Regions from separate parts of the Homo sapiens genome. Here region 1 is linked to region 2. Evidence: promoter capture Hi-C in human tissues and cell types (Jung and others, 2019). All regions are on one chromosome and are shown on one strand. Each heading gives the region's core, a stretch centred on a gene start or on the middle of the fragment in contact. The rest is flanking DNA. Distances are from core to core; before and after follow the strand shown. Region 1 overlaps SH3D19 (SH3 domain containing 19). Region 2 holds the start of SH3D19 (SH3 domain containing 19).

The links. The method cuts DNA at HindIII sites, captures the fragments that hold promoters and counts their contacts. A contact is called where the count stands out against the background at its distance.
Region 1: a contact is called between a fragment that was not itself captured here and the fragment with the promoter of SH3D19 in region 2, in 2 of the 25 tissues and cell types used here (bladder and mesenchymal stem cells).

Annotation. Positions count from the first base shown.
Region 1 is chr4:151,177,967-151,183,138 of GRCh38, reverse strand. It overlaps SH3D19 (SH3 domain containing 19), which reads left to right. Exons shown (of 20, transcript NM_001378122.1): 4 at 3,742-3,784. Among named protein-coding and RNA genes, the nearest start is that of SH3D19-AS1, 56 kb to the right of the region's middle. The HindIII fragment of the contact is 3,545 bases long and covers 1-3,240 here.
Region 2 is chr4:151,323,365-151,328,330 of GRCh38, reverse strand. It overlaps SH3D19 (SH3 domain containing 19), which reads left to right and starts at 2,726. Exons shown (of 20, transcript NM_001378122.1): 1 at 2,726-3,090. The coding sequence starts at 2,979. The HindIII fragment of the contact is 31,894 bases long and covers 1-4,234 here.

The DNA.
Region 1 (5,172 bases), core at 219-2,718, 140 kb after region 2:
GCACCTGTAATCCCAGCTACTAGGAAGGATGAGGCAGGAGAATCGCTTGAACCTGGAAGGCAGAGGTTCCAGTGAGCCAAGGTCGTGCCACTGCACTCCAGCCTGGGCGACAGAGAGAGACCCCAGCTCAAAAAGAAAAAAAAAAAGAAAAAGTTTGAAAATAATTCTGTAAAATGATAGGATAACTCTAACTGAAAATACTGCCTTTATTCTGTGGCATTAACCCAAAACGTACCAGACTAGCAGCTTGTGGCAGAGAGGTAAAATGGGACATGCTTGTCTATATGGCAATCTGGCAAATTCGATTTTCCTGGCAACTACAGCAAATTTGTTTAATCTGGGAAAGTGAGAATGAAATGTATAAGCAGATAGTTGAGAAATTAGCACAAAGAGCATGAGACAACACATGAAAATCTGCAGTGAAAACCAAAAGTGTTTGTAGCTATTAATCTTGTTCAGCACTGACAGAAGGTGTCAGTTTTTCCAGAAGGATCAAGAGAGAAAAGAAAGATTTCATAGATAAGTGAATGTGAAAAAAGCCAGACAAGGAGAGGGGAAAGCAGTGATTCTTGAAGGTTGTGCAGAAGGACATCTGTACGTACGACTGCAAGACCCCTCCATGTTCTTCAGCGGCAGTGCCACTCTGCTGCCTGGGGGCCTGCTGTGAATGACCTCTGGTGTGAACGGGCAGAATCAAGTTAAAATTGCTGATTTTAAACAATGTAGATCGACTACTGAATTACCTTTTAAGTACTATTCATACTTTAAAATCAATGCTTATTGAAGTAGCAAATTGATTTTGCAAAATAGTTTTTAGATTTTTTAAAACCGTTGTTAAAAACTGCAGACAGGCCAGGCATAGTGGCTCATGCCTGTAATCCTAGCACTTTAGGAGGCCAAGGTGGGCGGATCACTTGAGGTCAGGAAGTCGAGACCAGTCTGGGCAGCATAGCAAAACCCCGTTTCTACAAAAGATACGAAAAGGAGCCAGGTGTGGTCGTGCATGCCTGTAGTCCCAGCTACTCAGGGGGCTGAGGCAGGAAGATCGCTTGAGCCAGGGAAGTCGAGGCTGCAGTGAGCCAATATTGTGCCACCGCACTCCAGCCTGGGTGACAGAGCAAGACCTTGTCTCAAAAAAATAAAAAAAAAAAAACCCTACAAGCGGGTTTTTCAACTGGTTATGTGTGTGGATATCCTGGTCTGCACAGACAAATCTTTGCGGCAGTATTTCTTTACTCTCTGAATCTGTGGATCATCAACTTTGCTTTTCCATTTAAGTGTGCATAGCAGGGAAAAACAGTGGTATGGCAAGACAGTCATGCTCCTGAATTCCTTTTAAAGCTTAGGCAACTAGGTTCACTCTTTTCTCTTCCTTTCCTCTTCTATAACCCCTTCTTTTTTTCCCTTAGCACTCATGAATAGTACACAGCAAAAATGCCCCGTGGAAGAGGTATGTTTGTGATGATAACATGAAGTCTTTTAAAAGTGTTATCCCTGCTGATTTCAGCATTAGTGATGGTGGTGATGTGATTGTAGCAAACTTGAATGGGCCTCTGACTTAATGAAACCATTCTTACAAATCAGACACACCATGCAGAGCTCTAGCCTCCCTGTCAGCTTGGTTTAGCTCTTGATAAAAATGTTAATAGTCAGTCAAACCAGTTGATGATATGAATATGAGGACATCCTCCAAGTAGAAACCCAGGGGTTTGGTTTCAGATCTTAGAGGTTTGCTTTGCCAACCCAGCAGAGGTTCACCTGTTACGGCTCCAATCCAGCCTAAACTTCATTCCCACCTTCCACTTCCACCCCTGCCTCCCCTAGTTTTGACAGCCTCCTTGTTCAGAGAGAAGCAGAAGTTAATAGGGGGGAAAGATCTATGCTTCCAATCTTTTCAAATAGGAAGAATTGAACAAGTTGAGTATTACTGAGATATGAAAGCAACTGGTTAAAATAGTTTATATCTGAAACAAATTTCCTTTGTGCACAGATCTTTACACTATAGTATTAGAAGATTTTTTTCCCCAAAGAGATCTTTAGAATATGTTCCATGAAAAATAGAGGTAGGCCGGGCGTGGTGGCTCATGCCTGTAATCCCAGCACTTTGGGAGGCCGAGGTGGGAGGATCACGAGGTCAGGAGATCAAGACCATCCTGGCTAACACGGTGAAACCCCATCTCTACTAAAAATACAAAAAAAAAAAAAAAAATAGCCGGGCATGGTGGCAGGCACCTGTACTCCCAGCTACTCGGGAGGCTGAGGCAGGAGAATGGCATGAACCCGGGAGGCGGAGCTTGCAGTGAGCCGAGATGGCGCCACTGCACTCCAGCCTGGGCGACAGAGCGAGACCCCATCTCAGAAAAAAAAAAGAAATAAAGAAAAATAGAGGTAATAGTCTCTATTACATAAAAATTGAAAAATTGACCCCATATGTGTCGGGCGCAGTGGCTCACACCTGTAAAGCCAGCACTTTGGGAGGCCAAGGCGGGTGGATCACAAGGTCGGGAGATCGAGACCATCCTGGCTAACACGGTGAAACCCCGTATCTACTAAAAATATAAAAAATTAGCCAGGCATGGTCGCGGGCGCCTGTAGTCCCAGCTACTCTGGAAGATGAGGCAAGAGAATGGTGTGAACCCAGGAGGCAGAGCTTGCAGTGAGCCAAGATCGCGCCACTGCACTCCAGCCTGGGCGACAGAGCGAGACTGTCTCAAAAAAAAAAAAAAAGAAAAAAAAATGACCCCATATGTGATATGTTCTAGATTATCCGATTAAAACTTAGTTTACTTTATAAAATAAAATTTGGGAAAAAATTTAAACTATCAAGCTTAAGGACTTGAGTTTGAGACTTAAGGAAAAAGTCAGTGCTGCATATACAATAATATGTGCTATAAACAAGTTTATAAAAGTGATTTGAACACCTTTTACATTAATTATTATATCTTAGTTTAAGTAATAAAAGGCTGGGCATAGTGGCTCATGCCTGTAATCCCAGCACTTTGGGAAGCCCAGGCAGGAGGATCGCTTGAACCCAGGAGCTTGAGACCAGCAACATGGCGAAACCTCATCTCTGCGAAACATACAAAAAATTACCAAGGCATGGTGTCATGTGCCTGTAGTCCCAGCTACTTGGGAGGCTGAGGCAGGAGGATCACTTGAGCCTGGGAACTTGAGGCTGCATTGAGCCCTGAACATCATGTCACTGCTCTCCAGCCTGAGCAACAGGGTGAGACCCTGTCTCAAAATAAATAATAAAACAACTTAAAGGTTATAAAATGTCAGATAAGTTAGACAAAAGATGAAAATTTGACCAGTTTCATTCTACAATAGATTTATAAACAAACATCACAAAAGCATAGTCATATAGATTGGAATCGATATTTAAAATTTTTTCTGCCCATTGTTACTTCATGTCATCATCTTAATACTCCAGCCATGCAATTTATATTTAATAGCTGTCTTCTTTTCTCTGTTCATTCTTCAAACTATTTTCACAACTACAGAATGTTCTTTGGGGAGTTTTTGAAATCTATGTATTATGCAATCTCTAATATATAACCATAATTAACTTTATGCTAATAAAATGATTGTTTTGATTTACTTTTTTTTAAGGATATTAAAATTCATACATTCTATATGATGTCAAGTATAAGCTTTTTCCAATTGTGTACTTTGTAAAAATTTAAACCCTTACCAAACATACTAATTTTGTACTATACCAGTTTATTCCTTCTTCAACAGCTTCTCGGACTTCTATTCAGAGTGAACTTCATCGAGATAGAAGGTATGGTTATATTTATAATGGAGGACATATATTAGACTAATAATTGAGTAAAAGTGTGTTATCAGGTAGCAAATTAAATGTTTCACTTTCATAAGCAATGTATTCTTGTATTCTGCTTCATCAATATATCTCCTGAATTAACTTATAAGTTTGAAAGATGATTTTGCTTGAGAGAAGGAGTGATACAGGCTTGAAAATGTTCTTTTGAGTATAGTTATTTATTGAAGTTGATTTTTTAAATGTTTATTAAACAGCTGTTACATGTAAAGCATTGTAACTGCTTCAGAGAAATGCTTTGTACCTCATGCTACTTAGTACATGTTGCCTAACCAAATGGATGGATGACAGGATAGAAAATTGAATGGAAGGATAAAGAAAGGAAAAGAGGAGGTAGGCACAATGAATAAAGCCTGGATGGCTTTTTGGAAAAAGGAAGGGAAAAGAGAAGGGAGGAAAGATAATATTTGGGTAGATAGAAGGAAGGACCAGTGGACAGATGGACAATAGAATGGACAGAAGGATGGATGGACAAATGGCTAAATGGATGGATAGATTTTTTTTTTACATTACATCATGACATTCAATCAGATAGAGAGGTTTTCATAAGTCATGGTCCCTGCTGTCAAATTGCTTACAGTATAGTATAGAATAATGAAGGACTTCAGAGTCAGAACCAAATTCAAATCCTGACCGCCACTTTCCTACCATGTGACCTTGGATGACAAGCTGCTTAATCTCTCTAGCTTCTTTATCCCAGCTTTAAAATGGTGCTAATCATACCTACATCACAAGGTTGTCATAAGAATTAATATACATATGATGCTTAACGTTTATTAACTAATAACTCTTACTATTTAGTTAGACAAAAGCTATAAGCAAAGGTTCTTAGGAAGTACAGTTCAAATTTTATCAATGATCAGGTTCTACTGTTTCACAATGTAGCATGAGTATGTGTGTAATGCATAATTTTGAGAATGACAGTGCTTTTTTGTTTTTATTTTCCATAGAGTGCTAGAGAAAGGCAGAGCAGGTATTATCATCCATGTATGTTCCATGAGAAAACTGAGTTTTCCAATCAAAACTTGATTGATTTGTTCAGGGTCACACAGTTGCTGTTTGTTAGGAAATCAGGTTTAAGAGAAAATTTAAACATGCTCCAGGCACAGTGCCTTACACCTTTAATCCCAACACTTTGGAAGGATTGCTTGAGGCTGGGAGTTCGAAACCTGCCTGAGCAAGATAGTGAGCCCTTGTCTCTACAAAAAATTTTAAAAATCAGCCAGGCATGGTGGCATGTGCCTGTAGTCCCAGCTACTCAGGAAGCTGAGGGGCGGGGAGCTCGAGGCTGCAGTGAGCTATGATTGTGCCACTGCACTCCAGCCTGGGCA
Region 2 (4,966 bases), core at 1,477-3,976:
TTTTTGCATATGGAATGAAATAGGGGCTCAAATTCATTCATGTGCATGTGGATATCCAGTTGTAAAGACAATTCCTTCCCTGTTGAATTATGTTGGCACCCTGTCCAAAGTTATATCTTTATTGAAGAACTTACCAAGTTTTGTCTCGTTTTGTGTAAACTGTATAGACCTTCCTCTCTCATTGGAGGACAGGGAACATGTTTTGTTCTTTTGCAATGAGAAGACATATGTGAAAAGCACCTACCATAGGATGTGATCATGGATATTTCTTTCCTTCTTTTGAGTCTCCCCACAGCACCTAGAGTGGTACTTGGCACACAACAGTTACCATAAATGTTTGCTAATTGTAGAGTGGGCTTGGGCATGCACCACCCACCCACCACAAAAATGTGGATTCCCGAAGCTCTAATTGGCTGGGAAACCCAGAACAACTTTCACGCCTTTCCAAATTAAGATTCAATGGCTGGGCTCAGTGGCTCACGCCTGTAATCCAGCGCTTTGGGAGGCTGAGGTGGGTGGATCACGAGGTCAGGAGTTTGAGACCAGCTTGGCCAACATGGTAAAACCCCGTCTCTACTAAAAATACAAAAATTAGCCGGGCGTGGTGGTGCATGCCTGTAATCCCAGCTACTCGGGAGGCTGAGGTAGGAGAATCCCTTGAACCCGGCAGGCGTAGGTTGCAGTGAGCCGATATCGTGCCACTGCACTCCAGCCTCGGCAATAGAGTGACTCTAGTCTCAAAAAAAAAAAAAAAAAAAAAAAATTAAGACTCAATGACAGTAGAAACTGACTCCAATGGCTTAATGAAATGGTACTGTTGGTCAAGGTAGGGATTTTTAAATTATTCATCCTTGAAGGGAAGTGACAAATAAGGTTTCACTTACCAAACATTTAAAACAACCCTAAAGGTCCAGAACCTTTGTTTTATTGTTGTTGGCTTAATTTCCAGTTCTCTAAGTGTCTACTTATTTAATCGCTTATGCAGTAATAAAGTTTTAACTTGTGGATTTGACCTCAATTCCACAGAATCGATTGTGGTTCTTATCTGCTTAAAAGCGGAAAGATTTTCTCAGGCGGCAACAGCCACTATTGAAAAGGCAAAGAAACAGCACTCAGGTGTGGCAGGCAATTCTATTTTCAGTGACCCTTTTCTCCCTTTCTTTTTCTCTCCTACTTGCTGAACATTAGGAGCTCTTGGTAATCTCTCAGAAATAGAGCAAGACGCCAAAGATAAAGGCCTGTTCATCGCACTCAGGAATTTCCTAAGGTTTCATGTCCAGGTAATATTTCTGCCTGCTACTTGGGTATCTTTTGGTGAAATTCCAGAATCTTTTCCTCTCTGTGTGAAAGTAAGTACGTGCACCTACTGAACCTAAGATGTGTATTGTGCAGGTACACACAACTTTGGTTACACGGTTCTTTCCAGCTTTGAAAAACTTTCTTAGGGGTAGCTCACACAGCTAAGTGCTTCAAATTACAGTTTCTGACTCCAGAGCCAGTGGTCTCTCCACTTCCCCTAGTTGCCTCTCTACAAATAATCACGTATGGGTCTCTTTAACACATTTCTTCCTGTTCTTCTAGGAATTGTAGCCATATCCTAGCCCTAAATGAACTGGAATACAGTGAGGCTTGATTTATTATTAAACATTTTTATTAGACTTTTTTTTTTTTTCGAGAAGGACTCTCGCTCTGTTGCCCAGGCTGGAGTGCAGTGGTGCGATCTCCGTTCACTGCAAGCTCTGCCTCCTGGGTTCAGGCCAGTCTCTTGCCTCAGCCTCCCGAGTAGCTGGGACTACAGGCGCCCGCCACCACGCCTGGCTATTTTTTTTTTTTTTTGTATTTTTAGTAAAGACGGGGTTTCACCGTGTTAGCCAGGATGGTCTCGATATCCTGACCTCGTGATCTGCCCGCCTCGACCTCCCAAAGGGCTGGGATTACAGGCATGAGCCACCGCTTCCAGTCTTACTAGACTATTTTTAAGAACAGTTTTAGGTTCACAGCAAAATTGAGCTAAAGGTACAGAGATTTCCCATGTACCCCCTGCTCCCACACATGCATAGCCTCCCCCATTATCAACATCCCCCACCAGAGTGCCACAGTTGCTACAATTGATGAACCCACATTGACACCTCATAATCACCCAAAGTCTATAGTTTACATTGCGGTTCACTCTTGGTTTTGTACATTCTTTGGGCTTGGACAAAGGCATCCGCTATTACAGAATCATACGCATAGTAGTTTCACTGCCCTAAAAATCCTCTGTGCTCCCGCAAGTCTAGGTTTTTAAGGGCGAAAAGAGAGGGAAAGAAAAAAGTGTGCATTGCAGAGGCTCGACCCAACTCCAAGCCAAGTTTGTTCCAAAGTTCAGCAGCTCCCAGCTGTCCCATCTCTCCCAGTTCGGCCCCGGTCGGGTTCCTCCTCTTTTTGTTTAAGTGTCAAACAAATGGGTTTCCTGTTGACACTGGAATATCGTGAAAAGGCAGGAAGAGGCCAGGCCACCTCCTCTTTCCCCTCTTCCTATCCCGTTTATTTATTTTGCACACGTTTGTTTGGGTCGAGCTGGTGTTTCCAGCGTGTGTGGCTGTGGGGCGGCCTTAGGGGCCGATAACCCCTCCCTGAGGAGGCGAGGCCAGCCCCGAACCCGCCCGATCCGCGGTGGAGCTCTACGGGGCGGGGAAGGCAAAGAGGAAGGGGGAAGAGAGCGGGAGTGGGAGTGGGAAAGGCCAGGGATTAAGAGGCCGCCGGGACGCCGCAAGGAGGCGGGGAATCGGCTCGGCCCGCGCCCTGCCGCTGCCCGGCCGGCTGCAGGTGGAGTTCGCGGAGGTGGCCATTTCCACAGCCGCCGCCGACGCCTCCTCTCCGGGAGCCGCCTTCCCCCCGGCCCGAGGGCGGTGGCGTGGGGCGCCGGGTGCAGGCGTTCTGGGGCGCCGGGGCCGCAGCTCGCTGGCCATCCCGCGGCTGCGCCCCGCGCCTCGCCCATGGCTGAGGGCCGGCGGCGGGAGGACGAGGAGGAAGAGCTACGCGAGCGCCGCGAACTTGGTGGCCAGCGCCGCGCCCGGGGCCGTGCGCTCTCGGGCCACTCGGCCGCAGGTGAGAGGCGCGGGGGACGGGGCGGCGGGGACCCAGAGCTGCGCGCTCTGGGGCCGCTCGGGTCCTGCCCCACACAGCGGCAGCTCCTTCACGCGCCGGGATGGGACCGGCTTCTTTAACTCTCAGAGGCCAGACTCGGGGAGGGTGGCATTTCCATCGCCATCCTCACTTTCCGGCCGAGCCCGAGGAAATTCAGACCCGTCTTTAACTGCTAGTGGTCGTACAGCTGAAACTCAAATTTTCCGTGCACACTAAATCCAGGAGCTGCTGGCTTGGGACTTGTGGCCTGGTTGATGACTTATCTCTGGATGAGTCAGAGGTCAATGGCCGTCTCGGTGGACAACGACACCTTCCGAGGGGTTTGCCTGCGCCGCCGCAGCCAGGTCAGAGCACGTGCTCATAACTGAGGCAAGTCCTGTTTCGGCGTCCCTTGCACTTCGGACCTGTGACCCCCCTCCCTCCCTCCCCCAGCCGCCGAGCTCACCAGTTTTCTGTAGGACTTGTTTTCGTTAGTTGTGAGACCCTCCCCCACGCAAAGAGAAGTCCAGAATATAGCATTCCAAAAGGCCATTCATTTGGGCTGAGAATCATTTTCGGGCCTGTAATTACTTTTATGATACTGTGTTTTGGGTACACAAAAGCGGCACGGATCAAATAGTTTGGCACATTAGTGAAAGAGTGAATAAGTGTAGATCCACACCCCTTCCCTCTTCCGGGCGGCTTTTCAATCAAACATAATAGAGAGGACATTCTTTGGCCTTTGGTTCCAACTGGGTAATCCGAGTTATCTGAAAACAAGAGGGAAGAACAAACCTAGGGGGACTGGCAACAAAAGGGAGATAGGGAAGTGAGAGAGTCGGAGGAGAACGATTCACTGAGAGCCTCATTATAAAGTGGAATATAGCGAATATTCCATGAAGTGGAGAAGCTTTTCTGTGTGACTCCCTTAACCACTAAGAGAAAGTTGGAAAAATAGAGAAGATATTGTATCTGTGCGGAACAAATGGAGGGTAGAAAGTAGGATGAAAGGAAAACTTGAGAAGAACATCTTGAAGAAATAGTCAATTTAATGCCTTTGGTAGAATCTTGGAACATAAAAATAATTCTCCATGCTCATTATTACAACTTTTCATCAAAATAAGGCATTTGGCTGTCTATATGAACACCAGTTTTGAACATAATTGGTAATTTTGTTCAGTGTAAACCCAAACCTTGTGAAATAATGAATAGTTGCTGGATATAAGTGAATATTTCTTGCAAGAGTACAATGAAAAAACTTTACAAAGATATACCGCCATGCCTGACCTATGGATTTAAACAGGGTAGGCCACCTTAGATTCCTGTTACCTTCAGCAGAAAGCTTCATTCTCACAAGAGACTGTACAGTGAAGACCTGTTTTGGAGTTCAGACTAGATGTGATCCAGATGTGTGTTTATCATTTAGTTGCAATATGTGTATTTATTCCAAAGCTGGTGGAAATGACATTTTGTAATTAGTTTTCACCAGTTCCCTAATTTCTCAAGGTTGACAAAGGCTTTTCTAGGTTCTTTGATAATATTTTGCTGAGACATGACATTGTGTACTTTTTGCATTCAGTAATTGGTGTTTGTAGTTTTCTAACCATTTATATGCCCTTTTTCCATTAAAGGGTGTGAGGACGATGTAATGGAATGAGTAAGAGGGTTAAACTTGCGATTTTTGGATTTATTTCTTTTAGAAGAAATTATTTAATAGTTTACATTTCTTTACAAGCTGAGCTCCACTTTCCCCTTATTAGTTAACATGTTTTTCAGACACTAACACATTCCTTACCAAGCTTGGGCATTTGTTAGTTATGTCTGTGCTAGATGTTGCTCTCCTCCAAGTGAGAGGGTA